2 separate regions of the Homo sapiens genome follow, and region 1 is linked to region 2. The links are contacts of gene promoters, found by promoter capture Hi-C in blood cells and fetal thymus (Javierre and others, 2016). All regions are on one chromosome and are shown on one strand. Each heading gives the region's core, a stretch centred on a gene start or on the middle of the fragment in contact. The rest is flanking DNA. Distances are from core to core; before and after follow the strand shown.

Region 1 (6,798 bases), core at 2,144-4,643, 710 kb after region 2:
AAATAAATAACATAACATTCAGCATTTTTTAGTATAGTCATAGTTTTCCAACCAACACCATAATCTAGTTTTAGAATATTTTCGTCACCCCCACAAGAAACACACTATCCATAGAGTCATTCCTCATTCCCTCAACCTCGCCCCATCTTGGCCCCAGCCCTAGGTAACCATTAATCTTTGTGTCTCTATGGCTCTGCCTATTCTGGCCATTTCATATAAGTGGAATCATACAGTATGTGGTCTCTTGTGACTGGCTTCTTTCACTTAGCGTAATTTTTTTAAGGTTTATCCATGTGTAACACGTATCAGTACTTCATTTCTTTTTGTGGCTGAATGATATTCTTTTGTATGGCTATACCACAGTTTATCTGTTTTTCAGCCAATAGGCATTTGGATTGTTTGCACTTTTTGACAATTATGAATTGTACTTCCCTGAACATTCACGTGCAAGTATTTGTGAGGACATGTTTTTATTTCTCTTGGAGTCAAATTGCTGGGTCTTATGGTAACTCTACGTTTAACCTTTTGAGGAACTGCCAGACCATTTTCCCATTTTATATTCCCATTAGCAATGTATGTGGCTTCCAATTTCTCCACGTCCTTGCCAACACTAGTTATTATCTGTCTTTTGAGTATTGTAATCCTAGTGGATGTGAGGTGGGATCTCATTGTGGTTTTGATTCGCATTTTCCTGACGACTAATGATACTGAGCATCATTTCATGTGCTTATTGGCCATTTATATACCTCTGGAGAAATGTCTATTCAAATTCTTAGTCCAATTAAAAAAATTAAACTTTTTATTTTTGAAAATATTTACAGCCATAGGAAAGTTTCAAAATACAATACAAAGAATTTCCATATACGTTTCACACAGAATTTCTCAGGGTTTACCCCTTACCACATTGGTTTTACATTCTCGCTCTATGCATATGGTTATTTTTTCTGAACTGTTTAAAAGTAAGTTGTAGACAATGCTCCATTACCTGTAAATACTTGAGTGTATTTCGTAAAAACAAGGATACTGACTTGTGTAATTACAGTACAGTTATCTAATGAGGAAATTAAGATAGATATAGTACTATAATCTACAACATTTATCCAAATTTTACTTAGTGTCCCAATGATGTCTTTTATAGCAAAACAAAAGGTTTTTCCTCTGGTCCACGTTCCAATCCAGGATCACATGTTGCATTGAGTTGTCACGTCTGCATAGTCTCCTTTCACCTGAAAGAGTTCATCATCAGTCTTTGTCTTTTTTGACTTAATACTTTCCAAGAGTACAGACAGTTTATTTTGGGTAGTCCTTTGACTTGGATTTGTTTATCGTTTCCTCATGAGTACACTGATGTTATGTATTTGGCAGGAATATCACAGAAATGATGTTGTGTCCTTCTCAGTGCCTCATAACAAGGGACACAATATTTCTGTGTCATCATTGGTGATGTTAACGTGGATCATCTGGTGAAAGTGGTGTTTGCCAGCTATCTCCAAACTTTGCCCACTTATAATTGGGTTATTTATCATTTTATTATTGATTTTAAGAGTGATATATACATATATATGTGATATATTTTTTCTCTATGTAAGTTCTTTATCAGATATGATTTGCAAATGCTTTTTCCCATCCTGTAGGTTGTCTTTTCACTCTCTCGATGGTATCACTTGCAGCACGAAAGTTTTTAATTTGGATGAAGTACAACTTACCTATTTATTTCTTTTGTCATTTGTGCCTTTGGCTCTTGTCTTAGAAGCTTTGTCTAGCCTGAGGTGTTCTATGGTTTTTATGTTTTCTTCCAAGAGTTTTATAGTTTTAACTTTTATATGTTTAGGTTTTTGACCCATTTTGAATTCATTTTTGGATGTGGTGTAAGGTAGGGGTTCCAACTTTATTCTTTAACGTGGATATGTGGTTGTCCTAGCACCATTTGTTGAAAAGACTATTCTTGAAAAGACTATTCTTTCCCTGATTGAGTGGTCTTGGTACTCTTTTTGGAAATCAGTTGACCACAAATGTAGGAGTTTATTTCTGGACTCTCAATTCCGTTCCATTGTTTTGTATGTCTATTCTTAATGCAAGCACCATGCTTTCTCTATTACTGTAGCTTTGTAGTAAGTTGTAAAATCAGGAAATGTGAGCCCTCCAACTTCGTTCTTGTTTTTCAAGATTGTTTTGGTTATTGTGGATGCTTGCATTTCCACGTAAATATTAGGATCAGCTTATCAATTTCTGTAGAAAAATGGCAGCTAGGACTTTGACAGGGAATACGTTGGATATCTAGATCAATTTGGAGAGCATTGCCATATTAACCATCCTGGCTTCCAATCCATGAACACAAGATGGATTTCTATTTACTTAGGTTTTCTTGAATTTCTTTCAATGATAGTTTTGTAGTTTCAGTGTACAAATTTTGTACTTCTTTTATTAAGTACATACCTAAGGATTTTATTATTTTGATACTGGAGTTTTTTTAATTTCACTTTTGGATGTTCACTGATAATGTATTAGAAATACACTTGAGTTGTAAATGTTGATTTTGTAACTTACAACCTTGCTGAACTCATGTATTAGCTCTAATGGGTTTTATTGAATTCCTTAGGGTTTTCTATGTGCAATATCATGTCATCTGCAGATACAGTTTTAGTTTTTCCTTTCCAACCTAGATGCCTTTATTTTCCTTGCCTAATTATCCTAGCTAGACTCTCCAGCACAATGTGGAATAGAAATAGGGAGAGTAGACATCTTTATTTTGTTCCTGTTTTTAAGAAGAAAGAAGTTAGTCTTTCATCATTAAGTATGATGTTAGCAGCAGATTTTTCATAGATAACCTTTATCAGATTGAGGAAGTTCCCTTTATTCATAGTTCATTTGTATCATGTAATTTGAGAAAGTCTTAATTCATTGTGTCTCAGACAATCATTGTCACAACATATTTAAAGATTAGGCTAGGCTGGGTGTGGTGGCTGATGCCTGTAATCCTAGCACTTTGGGAGGCTGAGGAAGGAGGATTGCTTGAGTGGGCAGTTCGAGACCAGCCTGGGCGACATGGTAAAACCCCGTCTCTGCAAAAAGTACAAAAAAAAAAAAAATTAGCTCAGCATGGTGACATACACCTGTAGTCCCAGCTACTCAGGAGGCAGAAGTGGGAGGATCACCTGAGCCTGGGAGGTTGAGGCTGTGGTGAGTGGTGATCATGCCACTGCACTCCAGCCTGGGCGACAGAGCAAGATCCTGTCAAAAAAAAAAAAAAAAAAGAATAGAATAAATAGCAGACTAGGGAATCATTGGATCATAACCTTCAATTTACAGTAGAAAAAATGCTGCCAAATATAAATTGGTGTAAAAGTAATTGCAGTTTTTGCCATTAAAAACCTAATATTAAGCAGAACATCCTTTTACTACTACAAAATGTGCCCTTTTGACCCTCATTCAGTACTCAGTGCCTTTTTTTAAAAATACATTTTAATAATTTTTTTATTGATGTGTAACGTATAAACAAGTTTGTAATGTGCACTTAAGTGTACAGCTTGATAAATTTTGATACATATATACATTCTTGTACCTGCCTCCCAGATCAGCACCCCAGAAGTTGCTTTGTGCCCCTTCACAGTCATTAAACTCCCTCCAGTGATAACTGTTTTGATTTTTACCACCAATGGTTAGTTTCACCTGTTCTTGACCTACAAATAAACAGAATCATGTAGTTTGTACCCTTGTTTCTCACCTCTTTCCCTTAAAATAATATTCATAGCTGGGCACGGTGGCCCACACCTGTAATCCCAGCACTTTGGGAGGCCAAGGCAGGAGGATCGGTTGATCCCAGGAGTTCAAGACCAGCCTGGGCAACACAGGGAGACCCTCGTCTCTACAAAAAATAAAAAAATTAGCTGGGCGTGGTGGTGTGCGCCTCCAGTCCCAGCTACTTGGGAGGATGAGGTGGGAGGATTGCTTGAGCCTGTGAGGTCGAGACTGCAGTGAACCATGATCACGCCACTGCACTCCAGGCTAGGTGACAGAGTGATACCCCATCTCAAAAACAAGAAACAAAATGAAATCCAACTGTGAAGTATATATCAGTTCATTCTTTCTCTGTGTAGCATTCCGTTGTGTTCCAATTTATCTGTTCTTCTATTAATGAAGACTTGGATTGTTTCTGTTTGGGGGTTATTATGAAGAAAATGACTATGAACATTCTTATATATGCCTTTTGGTGAACATATATATTGATTTCTATTGAGTATATATCTAGGAGTGGATTACTGGATTATAGGGTAGGTTTATCTTCAGCTTTGGTTGTTGATACTGCCAAGAGTTTTCCAAAGTGGTCATGTCAATTTACACTCCCACTAGCAATGTATGAGAGTCCCAGTTGTTCCGTATTCTTAAGAACAGTTGATATCATCTTTTATTTTTTTTCTGTTGAGACAGAGTCTTGCTCTTTTGCCCAGCTGGAGTGCAGTGGCGCAGTCTTGGCTCACTGCAACCTCTGCCTCCCGGTCTCAAGCAATCTTCCTACCTCAGTCTCCTGAGTAGCTGGGACTACAGGTGTGTGCCACCACACCTGGCTAATTTAAAAAAAAAAAAAAATTGTAGAAACGGGGTTTCGGCCACGTTGCCCAGGTTGGTCTCGAACTCCTGGCCTCAAGCAGTCTTCCCGCTTCAGTCTCCCAAAGTGCTAAGATTACAGGCATGAGCCACTACACCTGGCTGATACCGTCTTTTAAATCTTAGTTGTTCTGTGAGTGCATACCATATGTCTCTTAAGAAGCCTGACGATTGGGTTATCCAGCTTTCAAAGATTAGAAGAAAAGGTAAGATGGGTTAGTTAGAAAAAAGAGCATTTTAATGGTTTATGGAAATTATCCTGAAATGTACAGTATTCCTCCTTGACATCTTAAGAGAGAATTGTGAGTAAAAATGTTCTAATGAGTCAAGATGACTTGTATCCAAATAAAAACTGCACAAGTCTAGGAAGTGGCCCACGTGGCCCAGTAGAATTTGTGAGAAAGATTTATGGGTCAATATTAAGCTTGTTCTGTGTCAGCAGAATGATGTGGCCACCTTATGCGTTTCCTCCTCACCATTCCCCTTATACAACACCCTGTATCTTACTGAGAACTAGATTGTCTGTACTTTGAGAGGCAATAGTCCCCCTATCCTTAGCATTGATTAGATCCCCTCTGAACACTGGTCTTGGGGCCAGACTTCAAGAATAATACAAGAGGCTGGGTGCGGGGGCTCATGCCTCCCAACACTTTCGGAGGCCGTGGTGGGAGAATCATTTGAGTCCAGGAGTTTGAGACCAAGCTGGGCAACATAGTGAGACCCCGTCTACAAAAAATACAAAAATTAGCCGGGCTTGGTGATGGGTGCCTGTAGTCTCAGCTGCTTGAGAGGCTGAGGTGGGAGGATTGCTTGAGCTCAGGAGGCTGGCTGAGGCTGCATTGAGCTGTGATCACATCACTGCACTCCAGCCTGGGCGACAGAGCGAGACCCTGTCTTTAAAAAAAAAAAGAAAAAGAGTAACACAGGGACGTCATCTGAAGAATTACCTGCTAGTAGAGTAACTCACACGTCCTGGGGAAAACAGTGATGGGACAGAAAGGAAAGACTTATAGGGACATGGTAAAATTATGTGCACTTCTAATGGGGTGTTAAGTAGAAAAATGGTTAATTCTAAGCAAACTGTGGATGGAACCCACATGAAAGAAGTCTTTGGTTCAGTAAAAGGGAAATATTTCTCATTAAGATCTTCCAAGAATGAGCTGTCTTTGGGAGGTAATGAGTTCTCTGTTGCTGGAGGTACTCAAGCATCAATTGGTCAACCAGTTGGTGGAGATACTATACAGAGGGGATTCAGGTATCACATTGGTAGTTGCCCTAGATTTGATAACCACTAAAGTACCACGTCAAATCAAGGAGGGGATCGATTGTTCCATGACTTGTAAAAGTTTGGTTTATATTTAAGTACAGTTTAATAAAGCTAAGTTAAAAACAAGGAATGAGAGCAGTTCTGAGTTGGCAACGTATTTGTGACACTTGCTGTTCTAGATTTTTCTCTTTGGTCAAAGAGATGATAACCAATACAGCAGGCAGTACGGTGGAGCTGGAGGGAGAGACCGATGGAGACACCTTGGAGGTGAGTCATGGACGATCTAGAATATGGAAAACATTGATTGTGTGTTCGATGCTTCAAGAAAATGTCCCATCTTTCTATAAAAATCCTCTGTTGAGTATGTTTTATGAACCTGCCAGCCATCACTGCATGGTTCCCAGAGATAATGTTGAATGTGTCTCCAGAGAAGAATCTCATTTCTTTGGGATTCTCTCAGTTAGAATGCTTAAGAAAAATTTGGCCATGGACTAGACTAAAATTTCCTTTTGTGAACAACCTATGAAAGTTTTCTCTAGGCTAATTAGTAATGTCTGTGAGACTACAAGAGAATTAGTTGGCCAACTGAGAGCAGACGTTTTATGCTTAAAATGACTTTAGTTATAGCTATGTGCATATACTATATGAAATATAACAACTTTAAAATCATTTTAAAAAGTAGGCTCATCAGCTCTTTTTAACAGCACAGTTATAGTCCACAGTTGCTAAACCATTGTACAGGTGTTTAAATCTTGCCCAGTTATTCAGATTTGCCACTCACTCAGGTTCTTCCAGTGATTACAATTTAATGAGATTTTACTGTACTTTCAGGTTAGACTGAAAGGAATTCCTTAATGTTTCTTTCAGAAAATATCAAAGGGATTCATTTTAATAATTGAGTTAACTACTAGAATTCTTAGGTCAGG
Region 2 (6,511 bases), core at 2,017-4,516:
AATGTCGAAAATGTCAATTTTCTCCAAATTAACCTCTGACTTCAATATAATTACATTTAGTATTACAGCAGGCCTTGGTGGGAGATTGCAAAAACATCCTAAAATATATTCATGTGGAAATACTGAATTTCAAAGAATTCTAGAAACACTGCTAAGAGGGAATTCAACAAATAAATTGCACCCTAAGCCATAGTAGTGAATAATAGATGCAGTAACAGGAAGATCAGAATAGATAGCTCAGAAGCTATCTCACCTACTATGGAAATTAGGTACTTGATTTTTTAAAAAGTGGCTTCAAAAATTACTGGGGAAAGGATAGGTAAGCAGGTAGTGCTGACCAAACTACACTTCGGAGAGAAAAGTGGATTTGGCTCTTTACCTCACCCTATACAGAAAAATTGCTTAAGAGTAAAGCATTTTTTACTTTTTTTTTTTTTTTTTTTTTTTTTTACGTTTTTTACTATAAGCATGAGGGCAATGGGGAGTATCTTGGGACTAGGGAAGTTCGTATTAAGACTTCTTAAAATGCAAACCATAAGGTGAAAAATTTATGGATTTTATCACTTCGTAATCATTATGAGATCAGATCAAGCAAGAACCATCAATGGATGCTAAATCTAGAGAGAATTTTTGACGAAGAGTAAGTACCTGCATAGCCTTAAGGTGCCTCACCACAGTGCATTTTGCAAGAGGAAAACTACCTCTAAGGTGGAGGAACAGCCAATGGAGAGAAAATTACTGTATCCATGTGAAACTTAAGTTGGTAGTCAACTCTAGTATGTGTAACAGAACATTCATAATCTTAGGAAATACACATGGAAGTATTTGTAATGTAACTTTCAAAAACAGTTGATAAAAAATAGGGCAATATTGTAAATGGAGTAAACATGTTAATAGGATTTTGTCATAAAAATTAAGGAAAATTTTACCAATCTTAAAAAGCTTAGTTGGCTAGGATAAAATATTTGCAACATTTAAACCAGAAATTATCTAGAATACAAGAAACTCCTGGAAATCAACCAGAGTAGCCCAGTGGAAAGGTGGGCAAGGATTGAACAGGGAATTTACAGAAGGGTAAACCAGATAGAATGGCTAATCATTTTGTGTAGATTGAGAACAATGCCAAGAGAGGAAAAACAAATAGAATGATAGCTTTTATGCAGTGTCATTTATATACAATTAAAATACATGCGTATCTTCAAAACAGTATTTCAAAATTGCAGCTGCAAAGATATCAGAGGAGGTGTTTATAATTAGGGAGAGGAATGGAAAGTAAAAGGACCCCAAAAATAGAATAAAAGTAGAGAGGGATGCTACACACACATGTCCATGAGCTCAAGAGTTGGATGAATTGAACTCACCAAAGGTCCCTAAGATAAGGGAGGAGAAAGTGACAGCTCCCACGCTCTTAATTTGGCTTAATCTCAATGTGTTCGAGTTTTCATTACAGCTCAGGGTACCAGCCCCCACCTGCTCACTTTCCTACTCATTTATGTTTAAACTTCCTGGCTTTCTCACCACACTTGAACCCTACTCCCGGCACACCTTTGGGCGTGTCAGGAACACGTTCATCACAAACATTTTTTGTGCCACAAAGGGACTTTCCCAGCTTTGGCCAAGAGTACAGGTGCCCATTCCTGAGAGTTTCAGCTTCACATTAAAAAAAAAAAAATGAGACATAATTAAGGGACCATAAAATTCACCCGCTTAAAATGTACAATTCAATAGTTTTTAGTATACTTAGTTGTGCACTCATCATAATCCTAGAATATTTTCATCCAAAAAAGAAAACCTGTACCCATTATTCAGCTTCATTTTTAATCGTGTATATCTCCCCCCAGGAGTGGTAATAAAACTTTCAGGCTGGTCACCTTCCAACGAGAAAAAACATGCAGCCTGGGGCTCCATGGGAACGGGTTATCACTTGGCAGGCCTGGGTAAACAAAAGGCTTGAGCCGGCCCTGCCAAGATGTCTTTTTCAATGTTTTTGAAAAGATAATAAATGTGCATGGCAGTGGTAAAAGTGCCTACTTAGGAGGCAACCCGTTTAGCAGTTTCTTGTGTGTCTTCTCGGAGAGATCCTCCTCAGAGGTTTTTTGTTTTATTTTGCTTTTGAGACAAGGTCTCTGTCGCCCAGGCTGGAGTGCAGTGGCGTGATCACTGCAGTCTCGACCTCCCGGGCTCAAGCGATCTTCCCGCCTCAGCCTCCCAAGTAGCTGGGACCACAGATGAGTCGCCATGCCCAGCTAATTTTTAAAATTTTTTTGTAGAGACGGGGGTCTCGAACTCCTTAGCTCAATCAATCCGCCCGCGTCAGCCTCCCGAAGTGTTGGGATTACAGGCGGGAGCCACCACACCCGGCATCGCGGAGGTTTCAGTCAGCATTATTTACGCCTCAGGAGAAGAGGAACCAAATTGGCTGCGGAGTAGGGTGTCGTTGAAAGGCCTAGGTCGGCCTACGGCGCGTGCCGCTGCCTCTTAGTTGAAGATCGACCCCAATAGCTTGCTGCTGTCCCTCTCTGGGTGACCGCACGCTGAGGGTGGGGCGTCACTAAACACTGATTACCCGTGCGCCTCGAAAACTGGAACCTAACTATGCATGGAGGGCGGGTCCTCTGGCGTCTGCACAGATGTCACTGGCCCAACTGGCACCCACCTGGGGGCCTAGCCAGAAATTGTTCCCAAGGCTGCATTGCTGAGTTTGCATGCAGACACCCAGTGAGTGTAAGCGTGTGCGTGCTGAGTGAGCACGTGTGTGCGCGTTATGTGCTCTGTGTTCACACATTGAGTGAGGATGTGTGTGCACGGTGTCTGAGAAACTGCACCCTACATCTACACACGCTTTGAGTGTGTATCTGCTACTGTGAGAAGATGCATTTACGCTGGGTGTGCACGTTGTGTGTGCATGTTGCATGTAAGCATCGTATGAAGAACTGTGTGCGTACGCACGCCTTCTGTGTGTGCACTGTGTACAGCAGCGTGTAAGGACGCGTGCACGCCCGTACGCGCTGTGTGAGGACTGTTGTGCACATTGCATGCACACGCTACAAGCGCGCGCCGCGTGAGAACCGGTGCGCCTATCGCACGTGCACGCCCTGCGTGCGCTGTGCGTGGAAGCGGTGCGCCTATCGCACGTGCACGCCTTGCGTGCGCTGTGCGTGGTAACCGGTGCGCTTATCGCACGTGCACGCCCTGCGCGCGTGCTGCGTGAGGACGCGTGCGCATGCGGACGCGCGCGGGTTCGGTGCGGCGCGGCGGGCTTGGCAGTGCGCCTGTGCGGCCGGCGCATCCCGATGGAGCGCGGCGGCGGCGGCTCCGGGACGGGATCCCGGCCTGAGGGGACTGCGCGGGGAACCTCTCTCCCAGGGAAGATCGCAGAACCGGGCGCGGTGCGGACCTCTCAGCCCAACTACCGGCCTCAAGGTATTATCCCCAGAGTGTGGCGGGCGCCCGAGGGCTTCGGGTTCCTGTGGGGGGGCGGGCCCGGCGGCCCAGGGCAAAGGTCCTCGAGCGTGGGGGGAAGGGGCACGGCGCAGAGCTGAGATAAACGCCCTTTCCCTGGCCCAGGATCGTCCGGACGTGCATCCAAGGGCCGCACCCCTCTCTGTGCGAGTGGCGGGGTTCTTTCTTGGGGCGACCTGGGTGAGTGGGTACACATGGGGGGTGGCTTAGGGTGGGCGGCAGGTGTGTTTGGGATGGAGGTGCCTGAGGGGGTGCTGCGGGTCCAGTCCCCGTCCTCGAGGAGCAGCCGGCATGGGGGTCGTTAGGATAAACCGAGCGGGGTTCTGGGGTTGCCCCGGCCTCCGCGCGCGCTCTCTCTGCGTTCTGGGAAACGCGCGCGAGCGCCGCTGCAGCCCGCGGCGAAGGTGGCCCAGCTTCGCGCCTCTTGGCGTTTCCAGGGGGCAAAATCGGCGTGTCACCCATTGGCAGAGGCAGATTCGCCCGGGCGGCCAGGCGTCTGCCCCGGACCGGGTGCTCCTCCCGCCCGGATGCGCTCCCTGTCTTGGGAACGCTGCTCAGGTGGCCGGGCCGCGGCCCTCAATCGAGGCAGCGGGGCAAACAAGGCTCTCAGCCCTCGAGGCTGCCGATGCTGGGAGCCATGGAGGGCTGGTCCCTGGCTGCCCAGAAGCCAGCGAGGCAGCGGAGGAGACTGTGAGGACATTTGGCAGGATTTTAGATAAGCAGGTCTGATGCTAACGTTCTGTAAAGTGGTTGCAGGTAGTGCGGGGGTGTAAGCAGCATGGAAACCGATTTCATGCTGTTTTTCCTGACAACAACTTTTTTATTTTTAGTTAATAAGGCAGGCTATTTTTAAAACATTTTTTATTGCAGTCTAATATGCATTTAAAAAACCACACAAAACTATAATTCGATGAATTATCACATAGTGAAGATGGGAGTATTTTATATACGATGGGCCAAGAAAAGGAAAGAAATCAAGAGAAATCTTCTTAAAACACGCTTTTTCACTGGGGTTGAGGGGGCGAGGTAGTATTTTCTGACTGGGCCTTCAGTTGCATCATTCTTAGGAGGAGGAGATAGCTTAAATCATTTCCAGTTTGTATTTTTCATTATGCTATTTTAAAGGCAGAATTCATTAACTGTCACAGGATAACGTTATAACTACCTTTGAAATGTGTGCTTTTGTTTTTATCCTTTTTGCTTGAAACACTCAAGCTGCATCTGCTAGGGAAGAACCTGGAAACTACCCACCAGAACGACCCTCCGTGGCAGAGGCGACCTTGTATAATAAAACACTGAAAAGGAGAGGTTGTTTCAGTTTGCATTTTTATTTGGTTGAGAGCTTAAATAATAGTTTGTTTCGATGTTCTGTTGTACTCATGAGAGGTGGGGAGGGGCGGTATGATTGGGTTTTCAGTGTATCTTGGATTTTATTTGAAGGAACTTAAGGGGTTTTTTTTTTTTTTTTTTTAATGGAAACAAAATTGGGGAAGGGGAGGAGGTACTTTTGCGGGGGAGATTCTTAATAAGTTCTGTTTGGAAACTATTGTAGAATCATTTAATGCACTCTTCTGATATTAAGATTAGCTTAAGGATATCTTCCTTCATTTGAAATTGGAAATATAGAAAAATATGTGTGAAGGTTTAAAATGTGAAATAAGCACCTATGTGCATTAAGGTTGGTATGGTAAAATTGGAATGTTTAATTTAGGTGCCAGGTGATACCACCATTTGTTGTTTGGGGGAGTTAGCAAGGCCAGGTACTTAAGTAAAGTCTCCTTAGAAAAATTATGATTTTGAGGTTTTATAATTATCTGTCCTGGATACTGATCATTCTTGGTTACCCAGGCCCTTAGCATTTGGGACCCATTCCTAATGAGACTTAACCTGCTTTTCTAGAGAGTCAACCATTGTTCCTAAGCTTGGGCTGGGTGCTGTCAAGGCTGCAAAATACAGAAAGACCTGAGATGTTTAGGCTGTCCAACAATTTTGTGTTGCACACTTAGGGGATATGAGTTGGCAAGTGGTTTTCCTGGGAGCTGTGTAAAAGACGGAAAGGAAATACCGCTGGTGGTTTCCTCTAGCAACAGGTTCTTCCGATATTGAAATCCTGTGCATGTTCCCATTACCCCCTAGTGATGCCTTCTTTCTTTCCTTTTAATTACCTCTGAATAGAAATTACCAGATCTACTGTCCATTTTAGTGCTTGTCTGATACACATAGTATAACAAATGAGCAAGTGCTTGTTTCAATCTGCTTAACAACCTTTAACCAGCAGATAGAATCACCAGATCTCAACCATATTTCCTTTCTTTCTTTTTAGATGAAGTCTCACTCTGTTGTCCATGCTGGAGTGCAGTGGCACAATCTTAGCTCACTGCAACTTCTGCGCCACCATGCCCAGGATCCCAGCACTTTGGGAGGCCGAGGCAGGTGGATCACTTGAGGTCAGGAGTTTGAGACCAGTCTGGCTAACATGGTGAAACCCTATCTCTACTAAAAATACGAACATTAGCCGGGCCTGGTGGCGCATGCTTGTAATCGTAGCTACTTGGGAGGCTGAGGCATAGGATCGCTTGAACCCAGGAAGCGGAGGTTGCAGTGAGCTGACCTCGCGCCACTGTACTCCAGCCTGGGTGACAGAGCGAGACTCCGTCTCGAAAGAAAAACAAAATAGGGTGGGGCCTGGAGATAGAGAGTAGGTGGTTATTGGAGACTGCGAAGGGTACTGGGGGGTGGGAAGGAGGTAGGAATGGTTAATGGGTATAAAAAAATAGAATGAATTAATAAGGCCTGGTATTTGATAGCACAACAGGGTAATTATAGTCAATAATAATTTAATTGTTCATTTAAAAATAACTACTAGTATGACTGGATTGTTTGTAACACAAAGGATAAATGCTTGAGGGGGATGGCTAACCTGTTTTGCATGATATGATTATTTCATATTGCATGCCTGTACCAAAACATCTCATGTACCCCAGAAATATATGCACCTACTACCTACTATGTAGCCACAAAAATTAAAAATTGTAAAATAAAAAAAAAA

The links. Contacts are between HindIII fragments. The CHiCAGO score rates a contact against its expected background, and 5 or more counts as called.
Region 1: a contact is called between a fragment that was not itself captured here and the fragment with the promoter of MAP7D2 in region 2, in 1 of 17 cell types (neutrophils). The highest score is 6.6, in neutrophils.

Annotation. Positions count from the first base shown.
Region 1 is chrX:19,399,917-19,406,714 of GRCh38, reverse strand. It overlaps MAP3K15 (mitogen-activated protein kinase kinase kinase 15), which reads left to right. Exons shown (of 29, transcript NM_001001671.4): 14 at 6,052-6,139. Among named protein-coding and RNA genes, the nearest start is that of PDHA1, 59 kb to the right of the region's middle. The HindIII fragment of the contact is 3,276 bases long and covers 1,756-5,031 here.
Region 2 is chrX:20,113,662-20,120,172 of GRCh38, reverse strand. MAP7D2 (MAP7 domain containing 2) reads left to right here and starts at 3,266. Exons shown (of 17, transcript NM_001168465.2): 1 at 3,266-3,423. The coding sequence starts at 3,294. The HindIII fragment of the contact is 4,441 bases long and covers 945-5,385 here.